Linked DNA regions of Homo sapiens: region 1 is linked to region 2. Evidence: promoter capture Hi-C in 16 types of primary human blood cells and fetal thymus (Javierre and others, 2016). All regions are on one chromosome and are shown on one strand. The core of a region is centred on a gene start or on the middle of the fragment in contact, and the rest is flanking DNA. Distances in the headings are between cores, read along the strand shown.

Region 1 (5,233 bases), core at 1,640-4,139, 260 kb after region 2:
AGGGGGCATTTTCAGCCAGGGTTAGCTGCCAGGCTTGGGCCAGACTCAGCCCTCTGACCTCCCCTCCGGGCAGACATTTTGGGTCGGTGGGATCCCTTTAGAATCCTCTCCTCTGCTGGCTTCTAGACATTAAGCATCCCTGGGCGGGGGCAGCACCAGCCTCCCTGTGGGACCCAGTGCGTGTGGGGTTTGTAAGCTGAAAATGACTTTTTCTTTCTTTTTGCACATAGGTGAGAGGACTTGTCCTTTTAGGACTTGTTATTTTTGCACATAGGTGAAAGGACATCCTTTTAGTAATAATTTACCTATTTAACTTTTACCAGAGTGACTTCCCAGGCTCAGTGCCTGCCAGCTGGTTAGATAGAATAAGCCCAGGCTCTGGCAGTTTGATAAGGGCCTTGATAAGGGCCGGCTGTTCCAGTGGGAGTGGCCTAATCAGCCCTCTCTGCCCTAACTTTCTCTTTCACAACTAAACATGTGAAACTTGCCCAGAGGCCGGCGGGTGCAGCCTGGTTGAGGCTGTGCGGCCTGCACTCTGGCTGGGGACTTTCCATTTCCCTTGCTGGTCACAGGATTCCTGGGAAAGCAGCCCTGGTGGGGGCAGCATTGGGGGAGGTTGTGGTGATAACACATCCCGCCTCCTGCACTGGGCCTCCTGTAGCCTGCACCCTGGCCGCTGTGATTGTTTGGCCTCTTTCTTTCTTCCTGACACCCAGTAGAAGGGGAGGCGGAGTGAAGAGAGTACGGGTTGGGGGGCACAGGGCCCACAGGTGGCAGCCGGCAGCCTAAGAGCCCGCGGGAGTGGAGGAAGGGTAGTGGAGTTGCTGAGCCCCAAGACAGGCATGGCATCCTCTGAAGCAGGGGTTGGGGGAAGGAAGAGGGGGAGTGGGGAAGGACAGGGGTGTGGCCTGAGGAGAGGGGAGGCTGGACCGCCTGTCCACTTTGCTTCAGCCAGGGAGCTGGCCCTTGGGACAGGCTTTAGATGCCAGCTCCATCAGCAGGATGCAGGCTTGGACCTGCTGGAGTCCTTGCTGGCCTGTGACCTTCCTCCCCTGTCTACATTTCAGGGAGCTCTAGAAGGCGGCAGTGGGGCCAGACCTGGCTTTGGCTGAGACCCTGGAGAAAGACTAGGGGGTCTTGTGCCCTGTCAGAGAAGGCAGAGCCTCATAGCCGCTTCCCTGAGGCCGCTCAGCAGCGGCCCCTCTGCCTTCCTGATCTCCTGGCATGGCAGCCAGAAGAGCTCACAGAATTACTTCTTCTGTAATTATTTATAAAGCAAGGTTTCCATGACGACCGGTTTCTGGTAGACGCTCTGGATTGGCGAGGCAGCCTCTTCCTGGCCAGATTGGGCAGCTCAGGAAGCTGGGGGTGGGGGGTGCTCCCCACCAAGCCCGGTGTGGCAGGGAGCTGGGACAGTCCTGGGTCAGGCAAGGACTCTGTGATGCTTCCCTGCTCCCTCGCCTTTCTCTGCATCTGATCCTGGGATGTCCTAGCCACCATGGCTTTCCAGCTGAGCAGGTACTGCCAGTCATGGGCATGTCTAGGCCGTGCAGGGGCCACTGTGGGTGGATTGTTTAGGGACATTTGGAAGGGAAGGGTGGGTAGAGGGGACTCGGCCCCTGTGCCCAGCAGGCTGGCTGGTGTCATGCAGCCAGGAAGGGCAGTAGGGCACCCACCTGGCCTGGCTCTTACTGACCCCCAAGATTAGGTGGTCAGCCGAAGCTGGGATAGGAAGTGCAGGCCTGCGTGAGCTGGGGTCCCCTGACGGACCAGGGCACTCCCCTGCCTGCTCTAGTCCCCAGGGAGGAAGGCACCTGGTTTTCTTTCCAGCCTTGCTCCTGTGGCTTCCCTCTGCTCCCTTCAGCTGGGCTGGGTTCACTGCGGTTTCCCAGCGCTGCTGAGCTTCCTACCTGCGGTGGAGGGGGGGTCTGTGGGCTGCACAAGGAGCCTCCTGGGTCAGTCCCCTGCCCCTGGCCAAAATGGAGGCTGGGAGCTCAGGGCCATTGTTGGCCTCTTCCCCCGTCCTGCTTGGGGGCCTGCAAGTGCTGCTGGAACTTTCCTTGGCACAGCCCTTCCTCCCACCCTTCCCTCTTCTGGAGATGCAGTGGCGTGTCTGTGGGTTGAAGGGACTTCGCCGGAACTGCCTTAGGCAGCAAGTCAAAGAGGAGAAGCAGGGGCCAGACTCTGTGACTCACGCCTGTAATCTCAGCACTTTGGGAGGCCGAGGCAGGTGGATCAACTGAGGTCAGGAGTTTGAGACCAGCCTGGCCAACATGGTGAAACCCCCGTCTCTACTAAAAAATACAAAAATTAGCCAGGCATGGTGGCACGCACCTGTAATCCCAGCTACTTGGGAGGCTGAGGTAGGAGAATCACTTGAACCCGGGAGGTGGAGGTTGCAGAGAGCCAAGATCACGCCACTGCATTCCAGCCTGGGTGACAGAGCGAGACTCCCTCTCAAAAAAAAAAAAAAGAGGAGAAGCAGGGCTGCTTGAGCTTCTGTTTGGCAGAGTCCCCCATGGAAAGAGGAGGCATTTATGTGTGCTTGTGCCTGGACTTTGAGGCCCCACACCCATCCACGTGCCTGTTTTGTCCCTCAAGGCTGCCTGGTGTGAGGCCCCCGCCCCCCATGCCATAAGGAGACCCGCTTCTCCTTTCCTTCCGGGAAGGGCAACCCCTGTCCCTTGTCTACTCCTGGCCAAGGCAGCCTCTGCTGAGCTCCTGAAGGAAGCTCCGAGTGTCTGCAGGCCCCAGGTGGTGGCCCCCAGCCATGAGTGGCATCTGCAGCCCTATGACTGGGGACAGTCTGCCCAGACACCTCTGTCCCACCCAGCTTTCCAGCTGAGGTGAGGGTGGAGCACACGCACCTGGTGCTTGACCTCTGGTTTGAGGCCTTTGTCAGAAGGGGGCAGTAATGAGCCGCCTGCCCTGCAGGCCCCGTGTGGGCCTGACCTGCCTATACCCCAGACCCTTACCTGGCTGTGCACCTTCAGGTGGGCACTTTAGCTTCCACCATGGAGTAAAGGAAGCAAGGCTCACCTACCCCTGGTTACCCTGGGTTTCACGTAGTAATGTTTTCATTTTAGCACTGACTTTTTTTTTTTTTGAGGCGGAGTTTCGCTCTTGTTGCCCAGGCTGGAGTGCAATGGCGCGATCTTGGCTCACCACAAACTTCGCTTCTTGGGTTTAAGCGATTCTCCTGCCTCAGCCTCCCAGGTAGCTGGGATTACAGGCATGTGCCACCATGGTTGGCTAATTTTGTATTTTTAGTAGAGACAGGGTTTCTCCATGTTGGTCAGGTTGGTCTCAAACTCCTGACCTCAGGTGATCCACCTGCCTCAGCTCCTAAAGTGCTGGGATTACAGGCGTGAGCCACTGCGTCCAGCCACAAAAGTGTAGTCGTCGTCGTCCTTTTTTTTTTTTTTGAGACACAGTCTCACCCTGTGGCCCAGGCTGGAGTGCAATGGCATGATCTTGGCTCACTGCAACCTCCGCCTCCTGGGTTCAAACAATTCTCCTGCCTCAGCCTCCCAAGTAGCTGGGATTATAGGAGCCTGCCACCACGCCCAGCTATTTTTTTTCTATTTTTAATAGAGACGGGGTTTCACCATGTTGGCCAGCCTGGTCTCAAACTCCTGACCTCATGATCCGCCCGCCTCGGCCTCCCAAAGTGCTGGGATTACAGGTGTGAGCCACTGCGCTTGGCCAGCACTGACATTTTTGTGTCAGAGTCAGAGACACTGGTGACACTCCCAGCTGGTCGTGTGCTGGGCTGTGGAAGGGGCAGGCAGGGTTCAGTGCCCTGCAGGGCTGCTGCCAAGGTCACCGCACAGGGGCCTGTCCAGGGCTGGCCAGGTGTGGGTGGCAGGTGCTGAGCTGGGCTGAGGGTGCTGAGCGGGGCTGAGGGTGCTGAGCTGGGCTGAGGGTGCTGGGCAGGGCTGAGGGTGCTGAGGGTGCTGCCGCTGCTGCCTCGGGGCTCCCCTGTGCCACTCAGTGCTGCTTTCTTTGGGAGCATCAGAGACCTCCGGGCATGGCCACAAACCAGGTGGCAGGTGACAACCGGAAGCAGTTTCCTCAGGCTGGAGACCAGCGGTGGGCAGGGCCATGCTCCCGAAGGTTTGACGGGAGGCTGCTCCCGTCTCTGCCTTCATCTTCACCTGGACCTCCTGTGTCTCATGTCGAGACTTCCCTGTTCCTATAAGGACACCAGTCATTGGGTTAGGGCCCTTCCTAAGGCACGGCGACCTCATCTTGATTGTATCTGGATGCAAAGAACTCTTTTCAAGTAAGGTGACATTCATAGTTTCTGGGGGTTCGTTCTCAAACACATCTTTTGGGGGACACAATTCAACCCAGTACTCAGGCTCCATGTGGCTTAGGTGGGACTCCACCTTGAGAGGACCCCAGGGCACAGGAGGCATGGCCAGCCCTCAAGGTGAGGCCAGGGGGCAGGAGCGGCTCCCCTCCCTGCCAGGCTCCCCTCAATTGTTCCAGGCGCCTCACTCCCGCTGCGGAACAGGCTCGGGCTGTCCTGCGAGGATGTGGGCTGGACCCCAGGGCCGCTGCTGTAGGCGCTCTTGGGATGAGTGCTGGCCGGCCTCTGGTGTGATGAGATCTGAGTTTTGAGCTGTGCCTTGAAGCGTTTTCAAAGAACACTTATTAATTTGAAAGGGTTGAGATGGTTTAAAGGCATCCAAAAGACACAGGCATCTCACCGAGGTCCCTGCCCAGTAGCTAGTTTCTTCCTCTGGGGGCCATGGAGGCCTCTGGTTTGTCACACCTCCTTCCTGGAATGGTCGTCCCTGCGCCCCAGGTGGTCACCTTGCTCCCATGGCTCTGTGCCTTGCTGTTTTTCACCTGACAGCTGGTCTCTGAGAAGGTTCCTCCTCCTCGTGCAAGGCTGAGCAATATTCCAATGTGTGGCTGTTGCTTTTATGTCCTTATGTGGACATCTCGGCGCTGGCCCATGTCCTGCGTTATACACGGCTGTGCAGTGAGTACCCTTGCAGTGCTTCGTTTAACCGTGTGTGGAAACAGCTGTGGGGTAAATTTCTGCGAGTGGAATCCTGGGTCAGGGTGTCCCTGTGCATCTGGGGTTTGGGTGGGTGGTGCCGGGTGCCCTCTGTGAGTGGGTATTCGCTTACACTCCCCTATTTGTGAATGGTTCCCTGTCCTTCACAAAGGGTGGGTCAGGCGTTGCTGGGACAGGTAGAACGGTGGGAAGGGCCAGGCG
Region 2 (5,057 bases), core at 1,205-3,704:
TGGTGGCGTGCACCTGTAGTCCCAACTACTCAGGAGGCTGAGGCAGGAGAATCGCGTGAACCCGGAGGCGGAGGTTACAGTGAGCCAAGATCGCGCCACTGCACTCCAGCCCGGTAGACAGAGCTAAGATTCCAACTCAAAAAAAAAAAAAAAAAAAAATCAACCACTCATTCTCCAGAGCTCTCGGAGACCTGGACCCTGGAGTTCACTCCTGGCTGACCCTGCCAAGCTAGCGCCACCTGAGGACCCCTCTCTCGTGCTCAGAGGGTCCCCTCCACTGTCCCAGCCAGTCGGGATGCCAGGCACCCAACTATCTCAACTCACAATAAACCAAGAACCTTACTGCGAAGCTTAGTCTTACATTTAAACGGAATAGTGGAGGTTTTTGCTCGCGGGTCCCAGCCCCATTCCATCTAGAAACACCCATCACAAAAAGATATTTTCTCCTGAGAGAAGCACGGAGAGATGGAGCTCTTATTTGCTCCTAAGCAAAACAAGTGTGCCGTATTGCTGTTTATTCGCCCGGCACGTTCCCTGAGGTTCCTTTCAGTGCCTTGTCCGACCCACCCCCATCCTTCCCGAGGTGCTGTTACCCGGCCGCCACTCTGCTGGGGGAGAGCCGGTGGGGAAATGGGGGGCAGGGGTCTCGGGCCGCCCCTCCCGCCGCGAGGAGCAGGCGTGCGGCCCGCGGGTTTTCTTTCGAGAAAGTCGGTGCCCTTAGAAAATTATTTTCTCAACCTGGTTCAAGCAAACCTTCTCCTCTCCCACCCCCTTGGACCCCAGGGCCGCCCACGGAGCGGAGGCGAAGGCCCGCGTTGACCGCGCTCCCCGCACTGGCGAGCCTGCCCAGCCACGGGAACCGCGGGCCGCCACCCGGGCCTCCAACTCCCGCGAAGAACTTTTCTTTCGGCGGGGAACCAGCAGAAGTGGGTCAAAAACCCGAATGCCAAGTGGAGGGCGGCGACGGCCTCGGGCCGGGGGCGCGCGGGAGGCACCGGCGCGGGGACTGGGGGTTCCACGCCGCCCCCACACGGCCCACGCCGCCCGCCCCCCCGGCCGCCTCCTCGGAAAGCAGATGGCGGAGCGGCCCCCACCCGCCCTCCCGCGGCAGCCGCCCCCCGCGACACTCGGCCCCCGAAGGTGCGGGGCCCATCCCGCGAGTATGTGTGAGGGGGGTGCGCCAGGCAGGATTCCGGGGTCCCAGGCCTGGGGAGGCCCTGCGAACCCCCGGGGGCGGCAGCGAGACCGGCGGGCTCCGGCGCCGCCTCCCCTCCCCCACCCGCCCGCGGTCGCCGGACCCGCACCCCCGACCCCAACGAGCCTCGGCTGGGGGGAGGGGACCGCGCGGGGGGGAGGCCGGGAGCCCCGAGGGCCGATCCCCGGAAGGAGGGGGAGTGAGCCGGGGCGGAGCCAGCAAAGCCCGCGGGCGGGGGGCGGGGGCCCGAAGAGAGAGGCCAGCGCGCCGGGGGGCGGTGGGTGGGGGCAGGACTCGGGTCCCCAGAGCGGGTGGGGCCCCCGGAGGACGCGGCCCCCGAGAGCCGTAGGGGGCGGGGGCCGACTGGGCCCCGCGCGGAGTCAGGGGGCGGGGCGCGGGCCACCGGGCCCGGGGGATCGGGGGAGCAGCCGGGGGCCTCGGGAGCCGACCCCGGTCCGAGGGGGGCCTAAAACTCCTCGAGAGCAACCGGAGCCAGGGGCGGGCGGCGGCTCGGACCGCGTCCCCGGGGGCGGGGAAAGAGTAAGCAGGCCGGCGGGGAGGGGCTGGGGGCGCCGACAGGTCCCAGGTCGACGCGAGGCCGGAGAGGGGCGGCCCGGGGGAGAGAAATAGGCGCAACGGCCCTGGGGAAAGGGCGCGGGGAGGACGCGGAGGTCCGCGGAGGGGACGCGGAGGCGAGGCCCGGCGGAGAGGACCGAGCGCGGGCCCGAGCAGGGGGCGGGGGTTGGGCTCCCGGGGGGGCCGACGAGGGGAAAGCGGGGGAAGGGGAGGGCGGCGCTCCGGGCGACCGGGGGTCTGGCTGCCTGAGGACGGCAGGATCGCGGAGGGGGTGGTCGGGGGCGATTCGGACGCACAGCTTCACTCACCTCCGGGTGGAAGGCGGCGGCGCAAGAGTCAGAGTCCATGTTCCGGGCGGGGGGCGGCGGCGGCTGCGAGAGTGCAGGAGCTGGGATGCTGGAGCGGGGCCGCCCGGGGCTGGGGGCTCGGGCGGCTGCGCAGGGCGAGGGCGGACCCGGGAGGGGTCGCCCGGGCTGGAGGTGATGGGGGGCTCAGCGCGTCGCTTCTCAAGCTCTGTGACCCCGGACTGGCGGTTCCACCGCCGACCGGAGTGGACGATGCAGCTCCCGCGGCGGTAGAGGCGGGAGAGTGGCTGCAGGGGGCGGCGGCGGCGGCGGTGAGCGGGAACCCGACCGGCTCCCCGACCTGACGCCCAGTTCGGCTCGTGTCTCGGGAGGGAGGGCGGGAGAGCCGGGAGGCCTGTCGGGAAATGTAGTCTGGGTGGCGACTGGAAGCCAGCGGCGAGGGGGCGTGGCGCGGGAGGCGGGCGCGGTGCCTTGTGGGAGTGGTAGTCCAAGGCCCCGCCAATACTGCGCACAAAGGAAACCTTGGGGACTCCAACCCCCATGAGGCTCCGCGGCGGCGGCCCCGGTGTGTGGAGGCGGGTCTTCTGGACTCGAGGCCGCGCGAGCGGGGGAGGTGCGGGGGCCCGCGCCGGCTCGGCCGCGGGGGGAGGGGCAGTGTGAGCGGTAGCGCCTTGGTCTCGGCGGGCGCGGGGGCGGGAGTCGCTGCGGCGGTGGGGGCGGGGCTGACGGCCCGGGTTGCGAAGGGCGGCGGCGGCTGGCACCTACCCTTCCTCGTCTCCTACTTGGGGTTCGCGCCCCTTTGTGGGGCGGGGGTCCCCGAGGCCTGGCCGGGAGTAGGGGCGGCAGGGGCGGGGACGCTGACGTCGCGGCCGCCCCGGGCATCGCTCCCCGCTCCCCGCTCCCCGCTGAGGGCGGAGTCGCCGCCCGGCCCCCGCTCCAGGCCGGGCTCAGCGAAGTTGTTTTCGCGGCTGCGGGCTTCGTGCGGCTCCCTGCTCCGGGCCCGCGGGGCCGGGACTGGACCGGGCTCTTCTCTAGGCATCTGCGGGATTCACTCGAGGTGGCCGGGTTCGTGCATTAAAAACACCGGGCCAGCGTTGTCAGTGTTCTAAAGAGGTGTGCGTTCAGTTTGCTTTCTGTTGCCGCCTAAGCCTAACCTTGGGACCGGCCGTTTTCCCACTCTCCTGAATATCCTCCGGCCCGCAGGGCGAGGCGGAGACGCGGTGTTTGGCGCTGGCATCGACTGGTACTTGTTTAGTGGTGTTTAACTGGGATGGGCAGTGTGTAAACGCTGGACCGCAGAGTATCCGACAGCTGTACGTGTGGAAGGCTGGCCGGACACGGTGGGGACTGCCCCTATGCGGTGACCAAAAGGCGGTCTGACGGGAACATTTTTAATATTCGAAAGTGGGGGAAAAAGGTAAGTACAAAACGCAGATGATTCAGTAACCTGTTTGGTAGCTTCGAAGAAGTTAAAGGGGAGTGACACAAAATTGAAAATTCAAATTAGAAAACGAACTCTTGGAGATACTAGTAAGATATTTGACAGGCGCCGAATGCTCCATCAAGCTGGCTGTTGCTATTTCAAGGGTTATGATCATTCTGATGAAGATATTTAATAGTTAGGAGATGGTGTTAATCTTAGAAATACTTCTCTGAGCGGCCGGGCGCGGTGGCTCGCGCCTGTATTCCCAGCACTTTGGGAGGCCGAGGCGGGTGGATCACGAGGTCAGGAGTTCGAAACCAGCCTGACCAACATGGTGAAACCCCGTCTTTACTAAAAATACAAAAATTAGATGGGCGTGGTGGCGGACACCTGTAATCCCAGCTACTCGGGAGGCTGAGGCGGGAGAATTGCTTGAACCCGGGAGGCGGAGCTTGCAGTGAGCCGAGATCGTGCCACTGCACTCCAGCCTGGGCGACAGAGCGAGACTCTGTCTCAAAAAAAAAAAAAAAAATACTTCTCTGAGCCTCAGTTTCCTAAGCTGTTAAATTTTAGCGTAGTGCCTGGCTAAATAAATGGTAGCTTACTGTTGTTGTTGTTGTTGTTGTTTTATTATTTCTGCAATATTGTAGCCCATTGGAGGGCTTCCCAAAGGTGATAAATTGAGGTACTTTACAAGATAAAACATGAAATTACTGATTAAAACAGAGACATTGGACTTGGCCCATCGAGACTTGATTAACAACTTCTTATACAATTGCACAGATGATTTAGCCAGATTTGGAATGTTACCTGGTTACTGTGACCAAAGCAGATGCCCCGAAGTTAGCCTGTATTGCCCAAGGTCATATTCACAAGGAGCAACTCGTTTTGCCAGAATAAGAAACACTGCTAAGGTGTTGATCCCGTTGGTAGTTTAAAAATGTAAATACCAAAAAGAATAATTCTTTTTTTTTTTGGAGACAGAATCTCCCTCTGTCGCCAGGCTGGAGTACAGTGGCGCCATCTCAGCTCACTGCAACCTCCACCTCCCGGGTTCAAGCGATTCTCCTGCCTCAGCCTCCCAAGTAGCCTGGACTACCAGCGCCCACCACCACGCCCAGCTAGTTTTTGTATTTTTAGTACAGACAGGGTTTCACCATGTTGGCCAGATGGTCTTGATCTCTTGACCTCGTGATCCGCACACCTAGGCCTCCCAAAGTGCAGGGATTACAGGCGTGAGCCACCGCGCCTGGCCAAGAATAATTATTAGAGGTGAAACCCAAGTGAAAGAAGAGGGATTTTTTTTTTTACACCTCATTATTATCCCCTGTGGTAAATGTGTCACATAATAAACATTAAATCCTTTCCCACACACACACATATTAAGAAATTATCGGGCCAGGCACGGTGGCTCACACCTGTAATCCTAGCACTTTGGGAGGCCGAGGCAGGCAGATCACCTGAGGTCAGGAGTTCGAGACCAGCCTGACCGACATGGGTCAGGGAGGTGGAGGTTGCAGTGAGCCGAGATCACGCCATTGCACTCCAGCCTGGGCAA

The links. Contacts are between HindIII fragments. The CHiCAGO score rates a contact against its expected background, and 5 or more counts as called.
Region 1: a fragment that was not itself captured here is called in contact with the fragment with the promoter of PHF13 in region 2 in 4 of 17 cell types (non-activated CD4 T cells, naive CD4 T cells, naive CD8 T cells and 1 more); the score reaches 6.1 in non-activated CD4 T cells.

The regions. Positions count from the first base shown.
Region 1 is chr1:6,355,111-6,360,343 of GRCh38, reverse strand. The region is part of intron 1 of ACOT7 (acyl-CoA thioesterase 7); the gene reads left to right. Among named protein-coding and RNA genes, the nearest start is that of ACOT7, 36 kb to the left of the region's middle. RefSeq lists enhancers at 237-286, 987-1,216, 1,237-1,286, 1,397-1,576, 2,277-3,244. The HindIII fragment of the contact is 6,351 bases long and covers 1-5,233 here.
Region 2 is chr1:6,611,128-6,616,184 of GRCh38, reverse strand. It overlaps PHF13 (PHD finger protein 13), which reads right to left and starts at 2,454. Exons shown (of 4, transcript NM_153812.3): 1 at 2,080-2,454. The coding sequence starts at 2,118. It overlaps LOC107984913 (a long non-coding RNA gene), which reads left to right and starts at 2,798. Exons shown (of 2, transcript XR_001737882.3): 1 at 2,798-3,493. RefSeq lists silencers at 1,266-1,725, 1,866-1,955, 2,126-2,905, 2,956-3,005. The HindIII fragment of the contact is 6,383 bases long and covers 353-5,057 here.